Regions from separate parts of the Homo sapiens genome. Here all the other regions are linked to region 2. Evidence: promoter capture Hi-C in 16 types of primary human blood cells and fetal thymus (Javierre and others, 2016). All regions are on one chromosome and are shown on one strand. The core of a region is centred on a gene start or on the middle of the fragment in contact, and the rest is flanking DNA. Distances in the headings are between cores, read along the strand shown.

The links. The method cuts DNA at HindIII sites, captures the fragments that hold promoters and counts their contacts. A CHiCAGO score of 5 or more calls a contact.
Region 1: a fragment that was not itself captured here is called in contact with the fragment with the promoter of SGK1 in region 2 in 1 of 17 cell types (neutrophils); the score reaches 6.4 in neutrophils.
Region 3: a fragment that was not itself captured here is called in contact with the fragment with the promoter of SGK1 in region 2 in 1 of 17 cell types (M1 macrophages); the score reaches 5.0 in M1 macrophages.

The regions. Positions count from the first base shown.
Region 1 is chr6:134,437,644-134,442,618 of GRCh38, reverse strand. All of the region lies in intron 4 of CT69 (cancer/testis associated transcript 69), which reads left to right. LINC01010 (long intergenic non-protein coding RNA 1010) reads right to left here and starts at 4,903. Exons shown (of 3, transcript NR_038217.1): 1 at 4,738-4,903. RefSeq lists an enhancer at 4,857-4,916. The HindIII fragment of the contact is 8,426 bases long and covers 1-4,975 here.
Region 2 is chr6:134,316,642-134,321,618 of GRCh38, reverse strand. SGK1 (serum/glucocorticoid regulated kinase 1) reads left to right here and starts at 3,507. Exons shown (of 14, transcript NM_001143676.3): 1 at 3,507-4,227. The coding sequence starts at 4,159. RefSeq lists an enhancer at 3,680-3,959. The HindIII fragment of the contact is 10,717 bases long and covers 1-4,977 here.
Region 3 is chr6:134,189,165-134,193,573 of GRCh38, reverse strand. All of the region lies in intron 3 of SGK1 (serum/glucocorticoid regulated kinase 1), which reads left to right. Among named protein-coding and RNA genes, the nearest start is that of SGK1, 130 kb to the left of the region's middle. The HindIII fragment of the contact is 3,339 bases long and covers 1-2,992 here.

The DNA of each region.
Region 1 (4,975 bases), core at 1,420-3,919, 120 kb before region 2:
AATTCAAGTCAACAGTATTGGCTGGTTGCTTCCTGTGTTTGGGACATTTAGTGAGGCTCTTGCGCCACAGGTTTTCATTCCATGGGGTCTTACTGTAATTTTTTTTTTCTTCTCCTAGTAGAAACTACTTCTGCCAGGAGATTCACTGGGGAAGATAAGACAAACAGTCTCCTATGCCAGTGCAGAAGTGACTGCATTCCATTTGCCACTGTCCACCAGGTATTAGGTTGGTACAAAGCAATTGTGGTTAATGGGGAAAACTGCAGTTACTTTTATACCAACCTAATAATTAATATTTTTAAAAGAAAAGTTTTGCTATCAAAAGAGATTCATTATAGTCAGCAAATTATACACTTCTAGAGAGAGACTACACACAGTCATGCACAGCAGATGACATTGTACTGAACAATAACTAAAGTCTATACAACAAAAAGTTTACATTGTTTAGACATGTCACACAAAGTAGTGCAAACAGCACTATTACTCTTATTTGTTAAAAATGGTTATACATTGCATAGAAGTGTTATTTTCCCATGTAATTAATGAACAATGAAAGTGAAGTACAAGAAAAATAAGAACAATAAATATGGATTTTCAACATGGAGGAAATTCAGATATCATAAATATTTCTATCAAAAATGACCTTGTTATACAAAAATTAGCCAAGTGTGGTGGCACACACCTGTAGTTCCAGCTACTTGGGGGGCTGAAGTGGGAGGATCACTTGAGCCTAGGAGGTCAAGTCTGCAGTGAGCCATATTTGAGCCACTGCACCCCAGTCTGGGTGACAAACTGAGATCCTGTCTCAAAAACAAACAGACAAAAAATGGCCTTGTGTTTCCCTTAGTTTTCTATTCTCACCTGGTCTCTTTCCCTATTAAAAATTCCTTTTACCAATAAGAAACATTCTCCTCACCCACCACCTAAATGTTTTTACCACTCACTAACTCTCTTGGGGAAAGAGAAGAGTAATTCTTTCCCATTATCTAATTTAGTAAATGGTGCCTAGGATCAGAAACCAGGCTGCTGCAATAAGGTGGATTGTTTTTCTCTTGTTATCAATCCCTGTTGTTCATTGTGACAAGCCAAAAAGGTAATGAAAATCCAAAGATAAATTTTGTTTGAACTACATTTAGCAAAACTAAGTTAACAGATTTAGAAGCAGATAACCATTATGAAATAATCTTATAAGACATATAAGCAAAACCAAATATGAGGGCCGAGGCGGTCGCTCATGCCTATAATCCCCGCACTTTGGGAGGCCGAGGCAGGTGGGTCACTTGAGGACAGGAGTTCAAAACTAGCCTGGCCAACATGGTGAATTCCTGTCTCTACTAAAAATACAAAAGTTAGCTGGATGTGGTGGCACACGCCTGTAATCCCAGCTACTCAGGAGGCTGAGGCAGGAGAATCACTTAAACCTGGGAGGCGGAGGTTGCAGTGACCCAAAATCATGCCACTGCACTCCAGTCTGGGCGACAGAGCAAGACTCGGTCTCAAAACAAAAAACAAAAACAAAATAAACAAAAAATATGAATGAGTTCCAATATCTTCACATAGGGATATCAAGATACTAAATTGAAAATTCCTTAAAGGTTTGTCTTTAACTTACCGGGTAAGTCCTAGACCAGTGGTCCCCAACCTTTTTGGCATCACGGACCAGTTTCATGGAAGGCAATTTTTCCACAGATGGGACTGGGGTGGGGTGGGATGTGGGGGATGATTTCAGGTTGAAACTGTTCCACCTCAGATCATGAGGCATTGATTCTTGTGAGGAATGCGCAAGCTAGATCCTTCACCTGCACAGTTCACAGTAGGGTTTGCACTCCTTTGAGAAGCTAATGCTACCACTGATCTGATAAGAGGCGGAGCTCAGGCTGTAATGCTTGCCCCCTGCTCACTTCCTGCTGTGTGGCTTGGTTTCTAACAGGCCACAGACTGGTACCGGTCAGCGGCCTGGGGATTGAGGACCCCTGTCCTAGATGTTTGATATGGTGCCTACAGAATGCTAGTGTAATTCAAGAGTCGATTTTAAGCAATATTTCTTTGCCACTATAGGCAAGATCCTGAGCAAGGCATTACAACTACATGTAATTCAGGAAATATAAAATAACCTATTCTTTTTTTTTTTTTTTTTTTTTTGAGACATAGTCCAACTCTGTCACCCAGGTCAGAGTGCAATGGCATGATCTCGGCTCACTGCAGCCTCCACCTCCCAGGTTCAAGCGATTCTTCTGCCTCAGGCTCTCAGGTAGCTGGATTTACAGGCGCACGCCACCATGCCTGGCTAATTTTTTGTGTTTTTAGTAGAGACGGGGTTTTGCCATGTTGGCCAGGTTGGTCTCGAACTCCTGGCCTCAAGTGATCCACCCGTCTCGGCTTCAACCTATTCTTTTTGAACACCAGAAATACGCTAAGGATTCATTTTGAGCCATAATCTAACTTTGAATCTAAGGTACGACGACCCAGTTGGCTTAGAATATAGCTCTAATAAAGTATTGTTCTTTTATGCATCCCTGACAGTGAAAAAGTTTGTGAATATCTTGAGCACTAGAGAGATAAATGAAAATGTGAGTGTACAAAATCCAACCTCAAAATGAGAACACAGCCCTGAGCACAGGTCCTGAACAAAAAGCAGAACATCTTTTTGTCAGCCTCACACCTCCTCTAAACCCCAATTTAGAATAGGTTTGGTATGAAGATCAAAATAGATTAACTGTATGGAGAATCTGTAAACCCAAAATAGATTAACTGTATGGAGAATCTGTAAACCCAAAACACCATAAAGGTGTAAAGTGGTATAATTATTATTACTATATGTTTTTACACACCAAAAACCACAGAGTCGGCTTCTGTACAGCTCACAGTGTGAAAAGGTGTGTTTCTTCTTCCAGAAAACATTAAAATTGGTCAATATATGACTTTTTAATCTTCTTATGGTTAATCCAAGTGAATTGTAATTTTCCTCCATGGTAAGGGTTATATTTTCCCCTTTATTTCTGGAATCTTTTTGCTTTTCCTTTCTTCTTTTTCTCTGTCTCTGTATATGTCTCTGTCTTTTTGTTTTTTAAACAAACACCCTCCTTTCCGCAGAAAGCCTAAGGGCCATTATTATTGTTGTTCAAGGGGAAAAGTGGCTCCCAAATGTCAGGCTCAATTCTCTGGCTTTCTTCCTCTTCCAATCTTTGTCCCAAGATGCCTCACTGCATTGTTACTGTTCCAAAGTAAAACCAATCAGTTCTTTAAAAATCTTCTGAATGCCCATAATTTCATGTACTTAGTTTACTATCAGTCACTACATGATACACTTTTAATTTGGCAAATTTAATGTGACAAATTAATTGGACAAATTTAATGTGATGGTCAAATCATCTTGAGCTACGCAATTCAAAATAATAATTTGGATAGGCCTTAGTTTACTTTTCCCCATTTTTCTCTAACAGTGTTCAACAGTTTCGTATCTGCCAAACCTGAGAAAATTCTTCATAAAATTTCAGAGCTTTTGAGCCTCTTTGAAGTGGCAATATCCACAGGGGACCCGATGTGCTCAGCTAACTTGGTAACCTGACCCTATATCCCTGCATACCCAGACCTCTCTATTCGTTTCTCCCGGGCGAATCCCACCTCAGCCCCCAACTCTGAGTAGCTCAGACTACAAGCACAAGCCACCATGCCTGACTGATTTTTGTATTTTTGCAGAGACAGAGTTTTGCCATTTTGCCCAAGCTGGTCTCAAACTCCTGGGCTCAAGTGATCCAGCCTCAGCCTCCCAAAGTGCTGGGATTACAGGCATGAGCCATTGCACCTGGCCTGTTGGCCAACTCTTAATAGCAATTCTTCTATGCTATAGTGAAATAATTAGAAAAGACTACATCCCTAAATATTTTAGGATGCATTAATCACTGTCTTTAACTAATAAATTAATTGAATGCAAAGAGTCCATTCTAAAATATCGGGGAATTTTATCCTTCAACACAGACTTTCTACAGTAGTTTTCAAACAGATTTTGAAGTCTTACGTTACAAATTAGAAAGTAGAAACACATTTCTAATCTGATATTAAAACATTTACAGAGGAAATAATTGAAAATGTCTTACCAGATCACTGTCAGAATTGGCAGTACTAGGCAGTCCTCCTGATTTTCATTCCAGAATTATAATGATAAGAAGGTAGATATTTTTAAGAGAACTAAACAGTAAGTTAATCAGCTATAGTATTCTCAGTTTTTTCCCTGAAGTTTTTTCTCATTATCTCATTTACTTTGGGGACCAATAACTTGTCCCCTTTTTGCAAACATGGGCAGAAACAATGAGTACTTTTTCATTTTGCCTCTAATGCTAAACAGTAACTCCTTGAGGCTAGAACTACAGATCCGTTCTCTCTCTAATCCCCAGTTCCTACCACAGTGACTGGTAATAACTTTCAGTAATTATGTGCACGATGCACATTTCCTTGTTAACTAAATATTTTACTTATTTCGATTGTAACCTGTAACTTTTATAGAATCCTTGCAAGGTGACCAGAAAGCTCTTTTTTGAGGAGCATAATTCTTGTTTGCGCTATTTTTTTACTCATGTCTTTTCCTAGTGATGATATTGTCTCTCCAGCACTCTCTCTCCTCCCCTCAACCCGTCCTTCTCCATCCCTGTTTCTGTAATCTCTTTATCCTAATTATAAGCTACTTAATATAGAAAGAAAATAATTGTAACAAAGGGAAAAGTTCCTTAAATGCATTACCTTTTTTCTGAAATTTGCAACAATGGCAGGATTCTTAGTAGGGCTAGCAAGCACCACTTACAGTTCTTAGGCAAAAAACCGAAGCCAAAGGACATCATCTGTCATGGAGAAAGACCCAATAGGGGAGAATATTTCCAAAATTCACATCATCAACAGCAGTATGAAATGAGAGTGATGCTAAGAGTCTGACATATACCAGCATGTAAGGGCCAGTCGCACTAGTGGGTGTCAGAGGTTA
Region 2 (4,977 bases), core at 2,258-4,757:
GGCTTTGCTATGTTGCCAGGCTGGTCTCAAACTCCTGGGCTCAAGTTATCCTCCTACCTCGGCCTCCCAAATTGTTGGCATTATAGGCATGAGCCACTGTGCCTGGCCCAAGGGATTATTTTTAACATTGGGATTTTCCATCAAAAAGAAGTGTCATCCCAGGGCTACAGTGTCATTGAGGCTTAAAGAGGAAATGGTGAGGAGTGAGGTCGTTTGCTCTTACTGGAGCTCAGCATATTGGCTATCATGGGAGAGAGCTTAATGACTGAAGAATCTTAAAGGTATTTAATGATTCCTGCAAATGGTCTGGTGCCAGGGTCACTGATGTCAGCTATACTTACTTTTGTATTTAATTCGTTTGAAAACCATTTGTTGAGTGCTAGCATGGCCCAGGCACTCCGCTGTGTGCTGGTGCTACAAAAATAAATAAGTGTGTTTTATGGGAACAAGAAGTGAGTTAATTAATTAAATTAAGTTTGATTTATAAACAAGATGTTGCATGAGTCCAGAGTTTTTTTTTTTATTATTATAAGCAGGAGCCTGTGCTCCTTTATAGGTATCAACAGTGGACCTGTCAAAGGAAACATTTAGTAAACAGTAGTCACTCTGGGCTTACCTGAGGGCAGCTTTACTTATGAAAATAGAGGTCAGAGTGAGATGAAAGATGCCTTCTTTTCCTGAATAACCAACACAGTGCAGTTAATGCATTTCTCTATTATTGCACCAATCAAAAGATAATCCAAAATAATTGGCTGTCAGATATAGTCAGAATCCCTGCCCTATACTTCTCTTCCTTCATCTGACTGACCTACTCATTCTTTAAGGCCATGCACTAACATCATCCCTTTAGGTAAATTTCCTGGACCTCTCTTACCCATCCAGCCCCACCCTTCCCCCCTCCAAATTAAGGCAGGGTTGATGCATACACACCACACACACACACACACACACACACACACACACACACACAGAGTAGTACACTCTTATCCATGGGGGATACATTCCAAGACCCCCCCCATGGATGCGTGAAACTTCAGATAGTACCAAACTCCATATACATTATGTTTTTTCCTGTACATACATACCTATAATAAAGTTTAATTTATAAATCAAGCACAGTAAGAGATTAACAACAATAGTAGAATAATTTTAACAATGTACGATAATAAAAATGATGTGACTGTGGTCTCTCTCTGTGTCTCTAAAAGTATCGTATTGTACTCACTGATTTTCAGACCATTGTTGACCTTAGGTAACTGAAACTGTGGAAGGTAAAACCTCAGATAAGGGAGGACTACTGTATATAGTATTCTTACCACACTGTATATTTCTCTACTAGGCTGTGAGTTCCTTGGTGACAAAAACCAGTGACACTTACATGCACTGGACCTTCCATAGGATCTAGCATAGACCAAGTGACAGTGGCAGCATCTTCAAGAGGTGGCATGGAGTGAGGGAAAAGATAGCATTTAGCTTGTCTTCTCCTCCCTCATAATCTCTATTAACCACCCGCCTGCACCCCAAATGAACATACATCCTACATGAAACCAGGGTATTAGTCCGTTCTCACACTGCTAATAAAGACATAGTGAGATGGGTAATTTATACAGGAAAGAGGTTTAATTGACTCACAGTTCAGCATGGCTGGGGAGGCCTCAGGAAACTTACAATCAGAGCAGAAGGGGAAGCAAACACATTCTTCTTCACATGGCATCAGGAAGGGGAAGTGCTGAGCAAAAGGGAGAAAAGCCCCTTATAAAACCATCAGATCTCATGAGAAATCACTCACTGTGGGAACTACAATTCAAGACGAGATTTGGGTGGGGACACAGCCAAATGATATCAACCAGTATGCATGCTAGGCCAATGTGGGATTAAGCAAAGCCCCAGCACCTCCTTCCTAGCAGAGTGCTTAAAGGTCCCCTCCTGTATATTACTCAAATTCAATAAATGTCTGTTAAAACACTTTTGGGGGAGTGGCAATGGGACGAAAAAGAAAGAACTTGAATGACCATCATTTTTTAAAATGAGGTCCATTGAGGTATAATTTACATGCAGCAAAAGTTTCCCTTTTCCTATATAAAATTTGATGAGTTCTGACAAATGCATAGTTATGTAACCACCACCATCATCATGATAGAGAACACTTCCATCGTCTCAAAATAATTCCCTTTGAACTACCATAATTTTAAATGAACTCTTTAGAAGAACCACAAAAACTTATCAATGTTGTAGATTACATAACATATACTTGCATCTTGGACAACTTAACATATCTCTCCAAAATGAATAGTTGTTTTCCCTTGGTTATCATGCCATCATTTAGTTGTATTGCATTTTCTTTTTGGAAACCTCAAGGCATTTAGCAAACAGGATTTCATGTTTATTCCCAAAAACTCTGGCCCAACTGTAGAGATTTATAGTCCAATTCAATGAAACCCATGCATTTCTTTCCCAGTTTAACCTGATGTTTCTCTTCTTACCAGAGACTTCCATGTAAATACTTTAACAATGTTAGGTGTGTTATATATAATGAGGTCATAATCAGTTTCAAATTAGCATTGCGCCTTTCACTTATTTATCAATTATATTCCCTTGTGATGATTATGAAAAGGCTCCACATCCTGAGGACACTTGTCAGAGTTAGATTTATTAATGGAATGAAATAGCAAATAATGAATGACTAAATAAATGAATGAGTGAATGAATGAATGAGTGGCTGCCTCCATTTTATGGATGAGGCAGTGTCCGAAAGGCACAGTGAGGTCAGGTGATGGCAGAAAGCCACACACCGATGTTGGTGGCTTTCTGCCAGGTCAGATGCCAAGTTTATTTTCTTTGCTTTCTTGCTTTACTATCAACTAATCTTTAAAATCATTCCCATAAAATATCAACATTAAAGAATAAAAATGGAAAAATAAGCCACATACAATTAAATGGCTTTTTTAAAAGGAGCTCAGTGTGCAAAGGATAACATGAGTAAGGATTTTTTGGGAAATTTTTCACCTAATAGGAAGAATGCTTTACTCTTTTATTTATCAAACCTTCCTCATCATTAAATGGATTCAGTAGTACTTTTTGGTAATAACTCGTGTGTGTGTGTATGTGTGTAATAAAGTACTTTGTATATGTTCATTGTGTTCTTTTTTTAATAAGCTGTTTTAATGAAAAAGACACAATTACCGTCACCATTGCCCACTATATAATGACAAGTAGGGGAGGGGAGGCTAAAAGAGCTTCTACATAGTGAGAGATCTTCCATTGTTATACCTACGCTTGCACTTTATTTCATTTTCTTCCACGTTTGGACAGGTCGAGATTAAATGTGATTACATTTCCGTTGAGAGGCTTTTATTCAGCAACAGGATTCAAAAGAATGTCAATGAGCATAAAATAAAAACGGTGTGCAATTTATATGAAACTCTGATTTAAATGGTCCTAACCAAAAAAAAAAAAAAAGAAAGAAAGAAAAGAAGCTATTTAAAGTAACCCTCCCAAGGGGAGTCAACTGCTCTTCAGTGTGCCCTGAGCCGGCTGTGCCTTCTCTCCATCCGCTGCTCAGATATTCATGAACCGTTGCTTCTTCCAGCCTCGCCTTCTCGCTCCCTCTGCCTTTCTGGCGCTGTTCTCCCTCCCTCCCTCTGGCTTCTGCTCTTTCTTACTCCTTCTCTCAGCTGCTTAACTACAGCTCCCACTGGAACTTGCACAATCAAAAACAACTCTCCTCTCTCAAGCCGCCTCCAGGAGCGCATCACCTGGAGAAGAGCGACTCGCTCCCCGCGCCGGCCGCGGAAGAGCAGCCAGGTAGCTGGGGGCGGGGAGGCGTACCCTTCTCCCGCTCGGTAAGAGCCACAGCATCTCCCCGGAGATTGGCCGTATCCCACCGTCCGGCCCCCAGGGTCCTGCAGCGGTGATGCATATGTTTCGGAGCAATGATGGAAGGAGAAAAGCCGCTGTCGGTGGCAACTGAAAGTGGGGAGAGGTTGCTGCAGTAGCTGGTGCTGCAGAATGCGCGAGTGAAGAACTGAGCCCCGCTAGATTCTCCATCCCGCTCAGTCTTCATTAACTGTCTGCAGGAGGTAAACCGGGGAAACAGATATGCACTAACCAGGCGGGTGCCAACCTGGATCTATAACTGTGAATTCCCCACGGTGGAAAATGGTAAACAAAGACATGAATGGATTCCCAGTCAAGAAATGCTCAGCCTTCCAATTTTTTAAGAAGCGGGTAAGGACAGGTTTTGCTTATTTCTTTTGTTTTCTGTGCTTCTCTTAAATGCTTTTGAATGTTTGCCTGAAGTAAGCCTGAGGTTTTGTTGCTAAACCCTTAATGTAAGCCGTGCTTCTGATGGCAGTGGTAAAGCTGAGAACTATACCTGACTTGATTAGAATTTGTTGGAGGAGGGGCAGGGGGCTATGAAGAGTTGCATTGGGAGGAGGGGGTTGGGCTGAGATGCCTTAAACGGGTTTGAGCTGGGAATGGGGATTTTTCTCTCTCAAGCCACAACAAAGATTACAAGGCAGTCGCAAAGAGAACTGGCTTGAGTACAATTATGGCTAGTAATTTAGTCAGGGGCTAATTTAGCAGCTTCCTCTCATCTTTGAAGGGTTCAACTTTTCTACACCTTTCATCCACTCAGTCTCAAGTGATGCATTATCATCTTCGTTCGTCAGAAGCAGCAGCTTCTGGTTTCCCAAATCCATTCAGCCAATAATTTGCTGTGTCTCTATCTGTGGTATAAATAGCAAAGGAGTAGAATGACCTTTTACAGAAATGATGGAATCCAGCATTTAAAATTGTCTATTTTAAGTTGCCTCAATTTTTGCTTTTGCTTAGAATAACTGCCTTTTTTTTTTTTTTTTTTTTTTTTTTTTTGGGAGAGAGCAGTGGGAGGTCTGTATTTGAGTGATAATTCAGGGTTATGTTGCTGTATGCATTTATTTCTTAAACTCCTTATTCTTCAACTCAAAGTATGAA
Region 3 (4,409 bases), core at 74-2,573, 130 kb after region 2:
ACAGCAACTCACTCTAAGTACTGTGGAAACAAACTGGAAGTGGGGCTAGAAAAAAAACAAAGGGAGAAGATCCCTGTAGTCCCAGCTACTTGGGAGGCTGAGATGAGATCACCTGGGCAAGACCGGGAATTTATTTCAATGTTCAGTATTTGAAGTGTTTTGGTCTTTATTTAGAAGTTATGTGATGTTTTTATGTCCATAAGTATGCAATAGGAAGTTAATTCCTCATTATATCAATTAGCTTATGGTGAAATTGGTTTCCTTATACTTTATTTCACTTAAAGTTACAATATCTAAGAACCTAGCTACCATTTTTAGTGAGGACTTATAACGTACTCCTAAATTAGGTTTTCAGTTTGTGAACATACTAAGCTGAGCTGCAATCAGGTAGAGATTCAAGGAACAGAGGTGACTTCAGGTCAAATTTAGTTTAAAATATGTAAGACATGATATCAGCTTATATGCCTGACTTAGAGAAAATAAATGGAAAAGAAGATTTTTGAACATATGCCCTTAATAACAAGTGTTTTATCTGGTTAAATGTAAACACAATTTTTAACATCTGAAGAAAAATTATTTTATGACTTTAAAATTGTACATAGTAAGGAAAATAGGCCCATAACTAATAATGAAAACAGGCTATTCCAGGAATGAAATGGCCCTCAAAGAGGTGCAGGTGAAGGGTAGGAAATAAGGGGTTAATAGTGGGTGGACCAGGAGGGCGCAGTGGCTCCCGCCTGTAATCCCAGCACTTTGGGAGGCCAAGGCAGGCGGGTCATTTGAGGTCGAGTTTCAGACCAGCCTGGCCAACATGGTGAAAATACAACAGTACAAAAATTAGCCAGGCATGGTGGTGCATGCCTGTAATCCCAGCTACTCGGGAGGCTGAGGTGGGGGAATCGCTTGAACCCGGGAGGCAGAGTTTGCAGTGAGCCAAGATCGTGCCACTGCACTCAAAAGAATGGGGGGAGGGGGGATGGATGGAGGTGGGAGGGAGGTAGGAAGACGAAGGTAAAACCAGGGATGCCAGAGGCAAGAATAGTACTATATTTTAGAGCAGAGGGTCCCCAGCGAATTCAAGAGAGTTGATTGAAGTTGATTCTATCTTACTCTAAAACTCCTTTATTTTGTTAAGGTGTAAATTGACAGTAGAAAGAAAATGCAAAGGATTTAGGAAAAGATTAGCTCAGGCTGGGCTGGAGTCGTTAAAGTAGATGTCAGTGAACAATGCAGCTCACGAAATCCTGACCTTTCCTCTTAAATGAGCGTGGCAGTCAGCATTTCCCACTGATTAAAATTTTGGCTCTTAGGCCGGGCATGGTGACCCACGCCTGTAATCCCAGCACTTTGGGAGGCTGAGGCGGGTGGATCACTTGAGGTCAGGAGTTGGAGACCAGCCCGGCCAACATGGCAAAACCCCATCTCTATAAAAATACAAAAATCAGGGCCGGGCGCGGTGGCTCACGCCTGTAATCCCAGCACTTTAGGACGCCAAGGCGGGCGGATCACGAGGTCAGGAGATTGAGACCATTCTGGCCAACATGGTGAAACCCCGTCTCTACTAAAAATACAAAAATTAGCTGGGCATGGTGGCGGGCCCCGTCCCAGCTACTTGGGAGGCTGAGGCAGGAGCATCCCTTGAAACCCGGAGGTGGAGGTTTCAGTGAGCCGAGGTCACACCACTGCACTGCAGCCTGGTGACAGAGCGAGACTCTGTCTCAAAAAAAAAAAAAAAAAATCAGCCGGGCGTGGTGGCGCATGCCTGTAGTCCCAGCTACTCAGGAGGCTGAGGCAGGAGAATCCATTGAACCCAGGAGGCAGAGGTTGCAGTGAGCCGAGATCACGCCACTGCACTCCAGCCTGGGCGACAGAGTGAGACTTCGTCTCAAAAAAAAAAAAACAAAAACAAAAAAACAAAACACCAAACACTATGCATAGTGTCTGCCACTTAGTATAATCGTTCAAGAAATGTCAGCTATTATAATAGGTGGACTTAACTGTGGAACTTAAAGAGAACATGTTCATTTCGCTGATAGGTATGTCCTTAGCACCACTGTAGTACCCGCCTTGAGAATGTGTAGAAGAGCTACTCCTTAAAAAACCTTCATGAGGATATTTGATCACAGCCTAACGAAGAACTTTAACGATTGATGCTAGTTGACAGTGGTAGAGATGGTTTGGGAAGTAGAGGTGATTCCAGCGAAAGATTAGAGAAAGACCTTAATAAATGGTTGTCAGGAATATTGTATGGGGGAAGGGGGATGTTCCTGTTTCTTAAGATTTTTTTGCCCTTGGTAAAAAGTCTGCTCATGATTTTATGAATAGCATAAAATGAGGCTAGTGGTGAAATACCCCAACTTTCGTGTAGACAGTAACTTTGAACTTTAAAACAAAGAGGGAGAAAAGCATTGAATATGCTGACTATGAACTGTCCTTTATACACATAAACACATGAATACAATAGTGCTAAGGTGAGCAGTGCACAGCATAGCTGTTGGGTTATTTTTAGAAATGGCAAAAATAAAGCCACATGCTTTTACCCAGTCTCTTTGTGAGACAAATAATCAGAAAGCAGTCTGCGAAAATCAGAAAGGATTGCTCTTCGACAAAAACATAATTGGCACATATGAGGAAGATAAGCACTCAGATTCAGTAGTATCATGTTCTAACAAGGCAACCTGTTTTAGACACTTACTATTATTCCTAGAAGTAATCCAGCTAAGTCTAGTGTGTCTGTTACCATCGTATGCCTCTTTCACATCTTATGTAAATGTACTTTCTAATATTTGTAATGTATGTAATATTAATTCTTTAACATTATTTTTAAGAAGAGATAGAAAAGGAATAGCAGTCCTGAGGGATTTTGCAAGGTCCCTTTCAACCTTTTAAAAACCTATAATCCTCAAGAAAATCAAAGCCCTAAGAAAAGATAATGGGAGGTGGGAAGAGAACAGTGACAAGGGGTGTTAAAAACTGTGTATGCCAGGAAGCTTGGCGTGGTGGCTCATGCCTATAATCCCAGTACTTTGGGAGGCTGAGGTGGGTGGATTACTTGAGGCCAGGAGTTCAAGACCAGTGTAGCCAATATGGCGAAACCCTGTCTCTACTAAAAATACAAAAATTAGCCATGCCTGGTGGTGTGCACCTGTAATCCCAGCTACTTGGGAGGCTGAGGCAGGAGAATCACTTGAACCCAGGAGGCGGAGTTTGCAGTGAGCCGAGATCATGCCACTGAACTCTAGCCTGGGTGATACAGCCAGACTCTATCTCAAAAAAAAAAAAAAAAGGAAGGAAGGAAGGAACTATGTATGACAGGGCCCCATTTCTGCTCTTTGATTGTTGTTTTCCCACTATAGAAGGAAAAGTCAAAGGGCCATCAGTTATGAATATAGGAGCAGATTGTAGATATAAAAACAGTACTTAGGGCCAGGTGCAGTGGCTCACGCCTGTAATTCCAGCACTTTGGGAGGCCAAGGCGGGCCGATCACTTGAGGTCAGGAGTTTAAGACCAGCCTGGCCAACATGGTGAAACCATGTCTCTACTAAAAATACAAAAATTAGCCGGGCATGGTGGCGCGTGCTTGTAATCCCAGCTACTCAGGAGGCTGAGGCAAGAGAATCACTTGAATCCGGAAGGCGGAGGTTGCAGTGAGCTGAGATGGTGCCATTGCACTCCAGCCTGGGTGACAGAGTGAGACTCCGTCTCAAAACAAACAAACAAAAAACAACCAAAAAAAACAGTACTTACAATGTGGTAAAGAGAGAAAAGGGAATACTTCTGCTTTTAAAAAGGAAAGTCAGGGCTTATTAAATACCTTGCTAAACTGGATTTATGTCAGTATATAATAAGGTATATAAACAACACGATTTGAAGAATGAACTTTAACTAGGTCTATTGTGATGATCTGTGCTTGTGCTCTAAGGAATTAGATTTTTAAGCAACACTTTATGAGTTGTGAAATAGAATAATTGTAGATACTAATTGATGGAAATAGTCTTATCTATTTGGCACAATCATTTGCTCTAAATAAGTAGAGAGTACGATGTAATTTTAAGCAAAATTGTATAAACAAATAATAAGTAATATTATAGTAGTAGCTTCTTGAAGTAACCATGTTTATGTAGTTTATAAGGTCAGACATTATGTATGATCCCCATCTTTTGCTCACATCTGTTTCATTTATTCTCTGTAATTTTCTTGTGGTCTTATACAAAAGCTTATTTTCATTCTTTTAGATTCCATTTGTATCTTCTGTGAAATGATGATTAGGGAACAAAGTTGGTGTTATCAGACACACAAAAATATATGTGTATATTTATATATACACACATGCACACGCACACGCACACACACACACACACACACACCTGTATAAAAGAGGTAGTTAATATGCAGTATCTGAAATGCT